Regions from separate parts of the Homo sapiens genome. Here region 1 is linked to region 2. The links are contacts of gene promoters, found by promoter capture Hi-C in blood cells and fetal thymus (Javierre and others, 2016). All regions are on one chromosome and are shown on one strand. Each heading gives the region's core, a stretch centred on a gene start or on the middle of the fragment in contact. The rest is flanking DNA. Distances are from core to core; before and after follow the strand shown. Region 1 overlaps SARNP (SAP domain containing ribonucleoprotein). Region 2 holds the start of ANKRD52 (ankyrin repeat domain 52).

The links. The method cuts DNA at HindIII sites, captures the fragments that hold promoters and counts their contacts. A CHiCAGO score of 5 or more calls a contact.
Region 1: a fragment that was not itself captured here is called in contact with the fragment with the promoter of ANKRD52 in region 2 in 1 of 17 cell types (total CD8 T cells); the score reaches 5.8 in total CD8 T cells.

What each region holds. Positions count from the first base shown.
Region 1 is chr12:55,791,027-55,797,970 of GRCh38, reverse strand. It overlaps SARNP (SAP domain containing ribonucleoprotein), which reads left to right. Exons shown (of 11, transcript NM_033082.4): 5 at 1,895-1,946; 6 at 3,091-3,164; 7 at 3,584-3,612. Among named protein-coding and RNA genes, the nearest start is that of SARNP, 23 kb to the left of the region's middle. The HindIII fragment of the contact is 2,580 bases long and covers 1,691-4,270 here.
Region 2 is chr12:56,256,164-56,262,635 of GRCh38, reverse strand. ANKRD52 (ankyrin repeat domain 52) reads left to right here and starts at 4,252. Exons shown (of 28, transcript NM_173595.4): 1 at 4,252-4,393; 2 at 4,725-4,808; 3 at 5,275-5,353; 4 at 5,551-5,621. The coding sequence starts at 4,367. RefSeq lists enhancers at 71-240, 4,764-4,813, 4,894-4,943, 5,250-6,242 and silencers at 3,994-4,053, 4,064-4,613, 4,634-4,703. The HindIII fragment of the contact is 14,479 bases long and covers 1-6,472 here.

The DNA.
Region 1 (6,944 bases), core at 1,731-4,230, 460 kb after region 2:
ATATTTAAAATGTGCATTCTGTTCAGGGGGCTTTAATTCTATTAATGAATTTTGAAACAAGGAAATTGAAGTGGGTGGGGTGATCGTTTTTGATTTTTAGAGGATAGTTGTGGTTAGACTGAAGTATGTACAAAAAGATTCTGGGTCTCTGTATTTCAGGGAATGTTGTTTATGTGATTGGGTAGGAGAGAAATTTCTCAGTGAAGAGTGGAAATTTCCCATGCATCCCAGAATTCGATGTTTATTTATTGCGCTTGAGTTTAGTTGCCTAAGGGAATTGTAATAGAATGGAAGGAAACTTCCCGTCTGGGGTTCCCTTTCTGCCATGATGTGCACTGCATTGACTGTGCTTCAGAATGGTAATGGGGAGGAAGTCATTACACTGGGGTTGATGGAGAGTACTACTTTCTTGATGGCATTGGATTTCAAGTAAAACATTAAACTTTAGCCTTTTGTGCCTAAATTATAAGACAAGGTTAGGGAAGGATGGCAAGGAAATGGGAAGCGTTTAGAAATTTCTTTAAACGTCAGAATAGCCAGGGCTAGTTTAGATTCCTTGACTATTTAAAAGGAGATCCCCTTCTTCATGTTTGGCCTGAAGTTCTCCAAAAATATACCTGTTTCTAGTTTGATTCCCAACCCCCAACCAGCTAAAGCGGTTACATATCGTAGGACTTCGTTATAGTCAGCAGGGGGCACCCATTGCTTGTCTTCAGTCCAGGGATTTCCAATAAAAGGGTGGAAGAGAGTAAGTTCTTATTCCAGAATTGCTTCCTCTGAAAATGTCATTAAACCATTACTACCTTTCAGGGCATCAAATGGGAAAAGTGTTCAGGATATTGGAACAAAAGCTGCCCATGTCTCTAAATGAGGGACCTTAATGAGACTGGTTATGACCCACAGTTTTATGGGAGTTGTTTGGTGGAGGGTTAATGCCCTTCCATTTATCGTGGGTACTTCCGAACTTTGTCTCCCGCCCCTGTGGTCCCCCCTCTTTTGTTTCCTCTTAAACCTTTGACCACTAGCTTACCATGTTTTCCTAATTCAAACTCCCCTTAGACTTTTTTCTTCCTACCTTCTTTGGCATTTTTATTTGTTTCACTTTGACTGTTCCAGCTAGAGCTACATTCCCCATGGGAGAAATAAGGGATTTTTAAAAGAAGGAAACCAGACCTTGTAGAGTACTTATTAATTGTTGTGATGAACATTGGGAGGTGGTACTTAAAGGAGGATTGGAGGGTTACTCATTAGTTCAAAAGTAAATTAAAGGCTGGGCTCGGTGGCTGATGCCTGTAATCCCAGTACTTTGGGAGGCCGAGGTGGGTGGATCACTTGAGGCCAGGAGTTCGTGACTAGCCTGGCCAACATGGTGAAACCCTATCTCTACTAAAAATACAAAAATTAGCTCGGCGTGGTGGCAGGTGCCTGTAATTCCAGCTACTCAGGAGGTTGAGGCAGGAGAATCTCTTGAACCCAGGAGGTGGAGGTTGCAGTGAGCTGAGATCGTGCCATTGCACTCCAGCCTGGGCGACAAGAGCAAAACTCCGTCTCAGAAAAATAAAAGTAAATTGAAAAGTTCCTAAAAGCAAATGAGATGGTTTCTGGTGTCCTTTGAGTGTTTCCCTTCAGCCCAGTATATTTAACCAGACTTCTTTCCTTATTTCTTTATTATACTTTAGCTAAAGAAGCTTAGTTTGTTATTTGAACTCTTTCCTCTCAATAGATGACAGTTAAAGGAACCAAAGCTCTAGTGGACTTCATGTTTCTTTGGCTTAGGGGGTGGCAGAGAGATAATAGGGCAGAGAATGGTGACTCAGGTGAATTCTTACACATTTCTGAGGTTGTGGTTTAGAATATCAGTTTTCTCATTTTAAAAAATCTCTTTCTTTTCTAGGGCAGCAGAGAAGAAAGTGGTGAAAATTACATCTGAAATACCACAGACTGAGGTAGGTATTCTGCTCCCTAGTAGAACAGTCTCTACATTTCTCTCTCCCTCTTACCCTTTATTATATCTGCATCATCCTCTAAAATTTATTCACAGGCAGAAAATCAGTATTGGCAGATTTTGGTGTTGATACGTTTCACTGCCAGCTACTCTTTGGAAAATATTTGGCTGGCGTAGGGGTAGTCATTCTTGAAGTTGTAGTCTTTTTATATGTAATATTATGGTCTTAACAGTGACTCTCTTTGAGATGTTTTCAAACCTAGGATTAGATTTAGGAGGATTGTACCTTGAAAATGTATTGGTAGATGTGACTCTTATGTTGCTACTGGCCAGTAGCTGAGATTGAAATTTCTCTGGTTTCTGTGGTGCAGGACTGTGAAACCAGGTTCCATTTGAGATCTTGTGTTCAGTATCATACTTGCAAAGTAGAGAATTATTAAACTCTTTTAGAATGGCATAAAACAATGCTGCCTCATTTCTAACTGAAAGAATACCATTGGTGTTGGAACCAAGCTATTCCTTTGATCACTTTTCAAAGGTCAGCCAAACATAGCTTTTGACTTCTTGGCTTCATGCATAATGTAGGTTTTACTTTATTTCTCCCTTTTGTTTTTGAGGGCATCTAGTAATAGTCTTTTTTTGTTTGCTTTGTGGGAAGGGCCGTTAAGTCCTAGCATGGACACAACCTGATATCTTCTAGGATTGTCAGTATTTTCAGTTTAGACCCTAAGAAATTACTTCTGATGTTTTTAAGATACCTACCTTTGGCTGGGCCAGGTGGCTCACGCTTGTAATCCCAGCAGTTTAGGAGGCTGAGGTGGGCAGTTCACTTGAGGCCAGGAGTTCAATATCAGCCTGGCCATCATGGTGAAATCTCATTTCTACTAAAAGCACAAAAATTAGCTGGGCACAGTGGCACAGTCCTGTAATCCCAGCTACTCAGGAGGCTGAGCCACGAGAATCGCTCGAACCCAGGAGGCTGAGGTTGCAGTGAGCCGAGATCATGCCACTGCACTCCAGGCTGGGGGACAGAGTGAGACTCTTTTTTTTTTTTTTTTTTTTTTTTTTAAAGATACCTACCTCTGACTGACTTTCTTAAACCATAAATTGACTTTTTTTTCTCCCTTTTGTCTATTTTTACTTAGAGAATGCAGAAGAGGGCTGAACGATTCAATGTACCTGTGAGCTTGGAGAGTAAGAAAGCTGCTCGGGCAGCTAGGTGAGTGTCCCCAGCCTTTTGGGCCTCTGATAGGGGTGTTGTAAAGATGAAGATGTGTGATCCTAGCTTTTAGGTATAATTGTTGATTTTAAGTAGAATAGAGGCTTGCTGAAGGATATGAACACTTTTTTGACCCTATTCAGAACATGTCTACTGATTTGGTTATAGTAGCTATAAATTGAGCTTTATTGAGAAGGGTTTTTGTAACAGTTAAAGCCAGGAACTGACTACTACTAATTCTGATAAGGCTTCCTTTTAGCTTAATTTCTGAACCTCTTTCATGGGGTTGTTAGAATTAGCTAATGATTGCAAGGCTTGAGATCACAAGCAAGAAGTGTCATATGTATACTTGACACGGAGACAGACAAACCAGGAGTGTGAACAGCTTCCTAAAATTTAGTTTGTTTTTCCTTCTTCAGGTTTGGGATTTCTTCAGTTCCAACAAAAGGTAAGAGTACAGAGATACTTCTGAGAAAGTTACCTTTTTATTCTTTCTTTTCTGGTATAACAGGTTTTATTTCTCCAAAATAAGGTAAATTTGCTAGCTGTAGAAACTCTTTAAGAGATTGTAACATTCATCTCCTGCTTTAGGTAAAATTATACTTAGGCCTTCCTGGGCAATTAAGAGAGATACTGAATGTTATGAGAGGATAGGAAGTGCCAACATTTGTCTGTCTTTTCTTGAACATCTTCAAAGAAGTTTCTCTAGTACTTTGCTTACTTATTCTGGGGTCTCAACTGCATAAAATTATTGCATACTATCTAGTGTTATACTGGCTATTATAAGTGATAAAAGGGAAAAGAATATCTTCTACCTTAACAGTTTTACTTCTAGGAACGTATAAGGAAATAGTCTTGAATGTGCATAAAGACTTAGCCTCAGGGATTATCACAGCATTATTTATAGTGATCAATAACTGGAAACAACCAACTGTACAACAGAGAATTAGTTATTAAATGTGTGCCATGGTATAGCAGACTACTGTGCTGAAATAATATTGAAAGATATTTATCAGAGATATTAATGAAAAAAGTTACAAAATTATATTAACAGTACGTTCCCATTTTAGTCATGTAAGAGTGCATGTATAGATAGGAAAAAAGCTTGGAAGGATACATAGTAGACACTTCAGCAAGGTTTGAACTGCACAGGTCCACTTATACTTGGATTTTTTTTTTTTTCAATAAATACAGTTTGCTGTCTGTATCTGAGGGTTCACCATAACCAAATGCGGTTCAGAAATACAGTATTCTTGGGATGTGAAACCTGCAGATATGGAGGAGCAGCTTATATCTGCTGCAGGACTTGAGTGTGGTGGATTTTGGTATCAGCTGGAGGGGTGGGTTTGGATCCAATCCCCTGAGGAAATGGAGGGACGACTGTATTCTAAATTGTTAATACTCTTATCTCTGGTTGGTGGAATTTTGAATGATTTATTTCTTTTTGCTTGTCTGTGTTATTAAAATCCATACAATGAATATGTATCACTTTTGTAATGAATTAGAGGAAATTATTACTATTTTTTGAGACACAGTCTTGCTCTGTCACCCATGCTGGAGTGCAGGGACGTGATCTGGTTCACTGCAACCTCTGCCTCCCAGGTTCAAGCTATTTTCCTGCCTCAGCCTCCTGAGTAGCTGGGACCACAGGTGCGTGACACCATACCCAGCTAATTTTTGTATTATTAGTAGAGACAGGTTTCACTGTGTTGGCCAGGCTGGTCTTGAACTCCTAACCTCAAGTGATCCACTCACCTCTGCCTCCCAAAATGGTGGGATTACAGGTGTGCCGAGCCTGAAACAGTTATTATTTTTAAGAAACGGCTGGGTATGGTGGCTCATGCCTGTAATCCCAGCACTTTGGGATGCCAAGCCGGGAGGATCAGTTGAACCCAGGAGTTGGAAACTAGCTTGGGAAACAAAGTGACACCTTGTTTCTACAAAAAATTAAAAAATTAACTAGACATGGTGGCAGGTGTTTGTAGTCCCAGCTACTTGGGGCGCTGGGGTGGGAGTATCTCTTAAGCCTGGGAGGTCAAGGCTGGCAGTGAGTGTGATCTTGCCATGACACTCTAGCCTGGGTGACAGAGCAAGATCCTGTCTCAGAATTTAAAAAAAGGACAGGCTGGGCACGGTGGTTCACACCTGTAGTCCCAGCACTTTGGGAGGCCAAGGCAGGTGGATTGCTTAAGGTCAGGAGTTTGAGACCAGCCTGGCCAACATGGCGAAACCCTTCTCTACTAAAAATACAAAAAAAAAAAAAAAAAAAAAGCTGGGTGTGGTGTTGCGCGCCTGTAATTCCAGCTATTTGGGAGGCTGAGGCAGGAGAAGTGCTTGAACGTGGGAAGCGGAGCTTGCAGTGAGCAGAGATTGCTCCACTGTACTCCAGCCTGGGGGACAGAATGAGACTCTTTTCTCAAAAAAACAAAAAGAACATAGCCCCTTTTCTCAGGAACTTAAAACTTAAATGTAGTCTTCCAATTCAATCCAGTTTTCCCTGTGACTCGTCAGTAGTTTTAAGTAAGAAAATGTCCCCCAGAGATCTTCTTGTAGTGTTTTGCTGTGCTTTTAAAAAGACAGAAAAATTCTGGCCGCTATCACTAAGTGTTTTAGAAAAAAAAAATTTTTTTTCTGGCTCTTAGTTGCATCAAGAGAGATATAATTGGTGAAGATACAACAGAAATTATAGAACGTGGTGCTTTTTTATTTTTTTTAAGAGACAGGGTTTCACTATATTGCCCAGGCTGGACTTGAGCTCCTGGGCTCAAGCAATCCTCCCTCAGCCTCCTGAGTAACTGGGACTACAGGTGCAAGGCTAAAATGCTATTTGAAGAAAGATAATAGTTAAAATTAATAGTCTGAAAAGGGAACCTGATAAAAAATACAGTTTCAGTGTTACTCATAATTCTGACATCTTAGAACTATAGAGTAACTCTAAAAAATAACGGAATTTGGGAACATTTAAAAGCAAGCACTGTTTTTTTGAATGAAATCCTGAAAAGTTTGAAGTAAATAATTATTGGCTAGTTTCTTGGTGATAATTTCAGGACAGAAAATTGGCCTTAAGGAGCCATAATTTCTTTTTTTCTCTTTTTTTCTTTTTTTCTTTTTTGAGATGGAGTCTTGCTCTGTCGCCCAGGCTGGAGCACAGTGGCGCCATCTCAGCTCACTGCAGCCTCTGCCTTCTGGGTTCAAGCAATTCTCCTGTCTCAGCCTCCCGAGTAGCTGGGACTACAGGTGTACGCCACCACGCCTGGCTGATTTTTGTATTTGTAGTAGAGATGGGATTTCACCATATTGGTCAGGCTGGTCTACAAGTCCTGACCTCAGGTGATCCACCCGCCTTGGCCTCCAAAAGTGCTGGGATTACAGGCGTAAGCCACTGCACCCGGCCAGGAGCCATAATTTCAACTCATGATAGTAGTTCTTGTTTGTCCAGATGTGATCTCTTTTTTAATAGCTTTACTGAGATGCAATTTATATAACATACAGTTCATCCATTTAAAGATATATAATTCATTATTTCATAGTATATTCACAGAGTTGTGCAGCCATCATCACCGTGCTTATCACCCCAAAAAGAAAGTCTGTGCCCATTAGTAGATATCCTCCATTACCTCTCCCTGCCCAGCCCTAAGCAGCCACTGAGGTTTTTTTCTCCATGGAAATTTGCCTTCATATAAATGAATTCGTATAGTGCGTATAGTGTATTGTCTTTTGTGACTGGATTCTTTCACTTAGCATAGTTTTCAAGGTTCATTAATGTTGTAGCATGTATCT
Region 2 (6,472 bases), core at 3,003-5,502:
GTTTTGTCAACTTTTCTTTTTTTTTTTAATTTTTTTTTTTTTTAATTTTGAGACAGAGTTTCACTCTTGTTGCCCATGCCGGAGTGCAATGGCGCGATCTCGGCTCACTGCAACCTCAGCCTCCTAGGTTCAAGCGATTCTCCTACCTCAGCCTCCCAAGTAGTTGGGATTACAGGCATGCACCACCACACCCGGCTAATTTTGTATTTTTAGTAGAGACGGGGTTTCTCCATGTTGATCAGGCTGGTCTTGAACTCCCAACCTCAGGTGATCCACCTGCTTGGCCTCCCAAAGTGCTGGGATTACAGGCATGAGCCACCGTGCCCGGCCGCCACCTTTCCGTTTATCCTCTTCCGTGATACCCCAAGTTGGGTGATGATCTCACTTATTTTCTTTCCTAACATCTCTTCTTTTCGCCTCTGCACTCCAGAGAGAGTCTGTTAAAATGTCCACATCCCCCAGTCCTCCTTTCCACTACTGTAGTACAGTGCCTCCTTCCAGTTCACAAATGGTAATCTGGAGCCACCTTCAGATGGGCACATGACCTTAAAGGACAGATTTACTCTTTCGAATTCCACTGTCTTGTCCAGCCCCACCCGCCTCTGACTAAGGGCTTATACATGTGAGACAGCTGCTTTGAATGAGGAGTAAGGATCTGGTTGGTTAAAAGACAGAAATTAACAGGGATACATAACTGAACTGTGACCTCATTATCACTCTGCCTTAACCAAGTTGACTGCTACAGAATCCCCAAGGTCCAACAGGCCTACCAAGCCAATTTGCTTACTGTCCCCTACTAATTGGTTTAACTAATTACTGCCATTTAAACTTTCCTAGTTTAGTCCCTATACTTGAAACAACCGATTTCTTCCCATGTCTCCACCATTCTACATCAATAACTTCCTTCAAGTACTGACTCAAAACACACCTCCTCCAGGAAGACCCTCTTGACTGAACCCTTCCTTCAACATTACTCTGAACACATAATGCCATGTAATCTAGCATGTATCCTATATTCTGTAGTTGTTTCACATGTATATGTATGTTCATCTACTAAGTTATAAGCTCCTCATAAAGAGACACCATTACTTCTAATTTTTGACCTCCCGACCAATTAGTACAGGGCTGTACATCGGGTGAGTCCTCACATTTAGTCAGAAGAAGGAAAACTGAGGCTTAAAAATAGGCAGCCATCTGTCTAGAGTTACCCAAATATGAATGCTTGTAGTTCAATCCAGAAGGACTGTCCATATAAGAAGGTTTTATCACCACTTCTGGCCTCCTCCTCCCATACCCTGTGTGTCTCCCTGAGCCCTGAAAGTATCAGTGTTCCCTACATCAAATCCCTTTTTTTCCTACTGGGAAATCCTCTTTTGATGCTCTAAATAATATTAAAAATAACTCTTCTAGCCCGTCCTCCTCCCTCCAATTGCCCAGAGAACCAGGCTGGCAACCTCTCTTGTTCACCTCCATCCCCTAGCCAGAACCGGGCACGTGACCCCAGCTGAACCCCTGACTCCAATTCCTCAGGTTACCTAGAGTTATTTTGGGCAATGGATACCATGTATGCCCCTCCTCCTTATCCTCTGGGCCATATCCTAGTTTAGCCCTTCCTGGAAGGCCCATCATACCCAATAGCCAAGTCCCAACACCCATATCCATTTGATCCTTTGCTACCTTTGGTTTCTGCTGCTGCTTCATCATCATCATCAGTCATCAAATATTAAATGCCTGTTTCTCTATACTGATATTCTGGAGCTTAAAAAAAACTATACCTGGCTGGGCACGGTGGCTCACGCCTGTAATCCCAGCACTTTGGGAGGCCGAGGCGGGCGGATCACGAGGTCAGGAGATTGAAACCTCCTGGCTAACATGGTGAAACCCCATCTCTACTCAAAGTTAGCCGGGCATGGTGGCAGCACCTGTAGTCCCAGCTACTGGGGAGGCTGAGGCAGGAGAATGGCATGAACCCCAGAGGCGGAGCTTGCAGTGAGCCGAGATCCCGCCACAGCACTCCAGCCTGGGCGGCGACAGAGCGACACTGGTCTCCAAAAAAAAAGGTGAAATGAGAAACAAAGGTGTACAATTTAACCAGATTGTGGCAGTATAAACTAAGTATGTAAGTGTTAAGGAGAACTAACAAAAGGAAAAGAGCCTATTAGCCAGAGGAGACTTCCTGGAAGAGGTAAGTTTAAATTTCTTCATAATTTTTGTGTGTGCATGGAATCACGGAGTGATTGCTCCTAAGCAATATTTTAACTTTTATTTTCAATATGGTAAAAATTTAAAAAATTCCAAAAGGTATATAGTGATAGGTAAATTTCTCTCTCATTCCTTATTTCCTGTACCCCAGTTTTTCTTTCTGGGAAAAAAGGACTGTTACTAGTGTCTTAAGTATCTTTCTAGCAGGAAAGCAAGGGAAGGCTTTTTTTTTTTTTTTTTTTTTTTGACATGGAGTCTGGCTCTGTCACCCAGGCTGGAGAGCAGTGGCTCCATCTCGGCTCACTGCAACCTCCGCCTCCTTGGTTCAAGTGATTCTCCTGCCTCAGCCTCTCCAGTAGCTGGGATTACAGGCGTGCACCACCACACCAGGCTACTTTTTTATATTTTTGGTAGAGATGGGGTTTCACCATGTTGGGAATGGGAAGGCTTTTTTTTTTTTTTTTTTTTTTTTTTTTTGAGACGGAGTCTCGCTCTGTCGCCCAGGCTGGAGTGCAGTGGCGCAATCTCGGCTCACTGCAAGCTCCACCTCCCGGGTTCACGCCATTCTCCTGCCTCAGCCTCCCAAGCAGCTGGGACTACAGGCGCCCGCCACCCTGCCCGGCTGATTTTTGTATTTTAGTAGAGACGGGGTTTCGCTGTGTTAGCCAGGATGGTCTCGATCTCCTGACCTCGTGATCCACCCGCCTCGGACTCCCAAAGTGCTGGGATTACAGGCGTGAGCCACCGCGCCCGGCCGGGAAGGCTTTTTTGAAATGTATTTTCGCCGGGTGCGGTGGCTCACGCCGGTAATCCCAGCTCTTTGGGATGCCGTGGCAGGTGGATCACCTGAGGTCAGGAGTTCGAGACCAGCCTGACCAACATGGTGAAACCCCCGTCTCTACTAAAATAAAAAATTAGCCGGGCAGGGTGGCGGGCGCCTGTAGTCTCAGCTACTTGGTAGTCTGAGACAGGATAATCACTGAACCCGGGAGGCGGAGGTTGCAGTGAGCCGAGATCGTGCCACTGCACTCCAGCCTGGGGGACGAGAGTGAAACTCCATCTCAAAAAATAAAATAAAATGTATTTTTATTTTTTAATTTTTTTCCTCTCCCCTCAAGGGAGGATTTTTATATATAAAGCCTTGACAGGACGCCAGCATGCTGCACTTCGTCCATTTCGTGTTCTCTTCAATGTGTATTGAGTTGTGAAACTCTGAACAGGACCCTGGATCACCTTTTATAAATTGTATCAATTTTTCAATCTCCACTTTTCGTCTTCCTCCTTTTTCCGTTTCTGGGTTGAGATGACCTCCATTCATTTCTTCTCTAATTGACGGCTCTCTGGCCTCTCCATTGGAGGAGGGGAAGCGCCACAGGCTGTTCTGGGGAGAAATTGTTGAGTGTTTTCCACTTTAACCTTGCAATGGAATCAGTAAGGAGTTGGAAAATGCCCCTTCTGTTGGTCTTGGCGGCCTTTTCCAGCTGCCAGTTGTCATGGCCTCTTTGTGGGTGTTTTCTGCAGTAGAATCCTCCTTGGGGTTTCTCTGCAGTTTGAGCACTTTTGCTATTTCTTCTCTACCGAACTCACGCCTCCGCCAGTGGAGATACACGCTTTCCCTCCCTCTGGGGCTATTGCCATACATAATTCCCAGTTCTCCACCCGCCAGTTCCTCCTAGTCTGTGGGGGATTTCGGGGTGTGGAATCGCTGACGGGAGGAGTTAGCTCGGGCGGGAGCATTGTGGGCTGGGTAAGATCTGGCCAGCCGTTCGGTCCTCAGTTTGGGAAGCACCGCGGGACTAAGGCCCAGGTTTCCGCTAGGGTCTTGTGGGGAACCCCTTGGGCCGCCAGACTGGAGCGGAGAGCACAGCGCGGCCAGCTGCGTGAGCCGGGGAGCCGGCGCGCGAGTTCGGGGGTGCAGGGGCTGCTGGGGCCGCCAGGGTGGGGCGGAGGGCGCTGCGGCCGGGGTCCGTTTGCGCGGGGAGCGCCGGGACCAGGACGGCCGCCAGGGAGCGCTGCGGCCTCCAACTCGCCCGCCCCCCGGTAGGCGGGGCCGCGCTCTCCCTGCAGCCGCCACCGCAGCCGCCGCCTGGGCCGCTCCGTGTCCCCGGTGGAGCCGCCGCCGCCGCCGCCGGGAGCTCGATGCGGACGGAGCCCGGGCCGAGCCATGGGGATCCTCAGCATCACGGACCAGGTCAGCCCTCCTGCCCTTTCCCGCTTCCTCCTTCCAGGGCTCGGCGCTGCCGTCACGCGAGCCCGGGGATGTGCGGCCTAGGCTGGGCCTGAGCCCGGGGCTCCCGCAGCTCCCGCCCCGCCCCATGCCGCGCTCCCCTCAACCGAGCCGGTGTCCTTGGGGACCTGGCAACCGGCGGAGGCACCGCGGGAGCTCGCTCCAGCCAGAATCCCTAGAGTGGAGCCCCTCCACGGACGCCCCCCACTCAAACCTAGGTGCTCCCCCACCCCCACCCCCACACCGGTTCCGCTCCGGCTCCAGCCCGCTCTCAGAATGCCGGTTCTCTCTGCAGCCGCCCCTGGTCCAGGCCATCTTTAGCCGAGATGTGGAGGAAGTGCGTTCCCTACTCTCGCAGAAGGAGAACATCAATGTGCTGGTGAGTTGGGAGCAGGGAGGATGGCGAGACCGGAATCCTGGCTCCCGTGTTCTGGACCCCTCCCCACCGGTGGGGCGGCTCCGTGTCTCCTCTGCTCAGATGAGGCCGCAGTTCTTTCCATCCTGGAGTGAAAGCCTACTCTGCATTTGGGGATGGAGAGCAGGTCAGGCTTGAAGCCCAGATCACTTGGGCTGGGAATGCCCAGGAACGTTGTTCTCTTCTCAACCTCCGGAGTCTGCAGCGCCCCCACCCCTCCTGGAAAAAGGAGCCGGCTTCTCAGCCCATTGGCCCTGACTCCACCCTCCCTAGGTGCTTGCCTTTGACTCCCAATACCGGGACTTAGGACGCTGCAGAAACTATGGGAAGAGGTTGTGGGGAAGGGCCTGGAGCTCTGAGACTTGGGCTGGGGTCCTTGATAGCCCCCTTACCCCGCGCCCATACTCCCTGCTCTTTTTTGCCTTCCCAGGACCAAGAGAGGCGAACTCCATTGCATGCTGCTGCCTACGTAGGCGATGTCCCCATCCTCCAGTTGCTACTGATGTCAGGTGAAAGTGGGGAGCTGGAAGGTGTGGCACATAGGGAGCGAAGGGAGGGGAGGAGTCTTTTTTGATATTCAAGGATTGCTCTCCCCGGCTTGGTCCAGGCGAGGCTCCAGCTCCATTCAGATTTCCTGGCCTGATTACTGGCTTCCTTCATACCTCCTCCCCACCTTCCATCAAAATAGGAAATTATATCCCCACAGGTGCTAATGTCAATGCTAAGGACACACTGTGGCTGACCCCTCTTCATCGTGCTGCTGCCTCCCGAAACGAGGTATGCACCCCCACCTTCTATTACCCTTTCAAAAAGGATAAGTTGCTTAAAGGTGGGGGTTAAGGGTTAAGGAGCCTCAGTCCTCAGCCCTACAAGCTGTTCTACCCCAGGTAGTGAGGAGATCAAATCTTGGCCCCTTCCTCCTACCCCTAGAACTGGCCAGTAAGGGGGTTGAGTGCTGCCAGCTGATGTGACTCAGGAAGAGCTTAACACTGGGCTGGCAGACTGCGGGGGCCCTGCTGCCAGGCCTGAGTGACTCATCCCTCCCTGGGGGGCCACCTTGAGTCTGATCCCCCTCTGGGCACTGAGATTTCTTTTCCTTGTGATGGAGGATGGGTATAGTAATCTGTTGCATCCTTGGCCCTCAAGCAGCTTGAAAGTTGACAGCACAGGGGCCAAACATATTTCATCAGTTGGGTCCTTTATCCTATTCCCATCAGCCCTGAAGACAGGGAAAGGGGGACCTCCTCCTCAGTTCATCACTTCCCTGGCTCCAGCCACCAGGGGGAGGGGCCGAGGCCAGTGGGAATGAGGTGGGTGGTGGTTAGGAGGGGCATTTTAGCTCGGGTTTTGCAAACGAACCAGTATCTGTTTGCTTACTGAGATACTGAAAATAATTTTGGTGCCTATGAGAAGGCTAAAGAGGGTGTTCAGGGCAAGATGTAGCAAGAGCATTTAGTTTTCCTAGAAGTAGTAGGGGGTTGGGATGTGTGGATCTCCACATGTGGATTTGTTTGGGAATGGATGTATGTGTGAGTGAAGATTTTCAGGGTCTAAGTTGGCGAGTCAGGTGGCTTGAAGAAGAGCAAAGGGTCCTTGTTTTAATCAGCAAGGTAAGGAAGAGCTTAAGT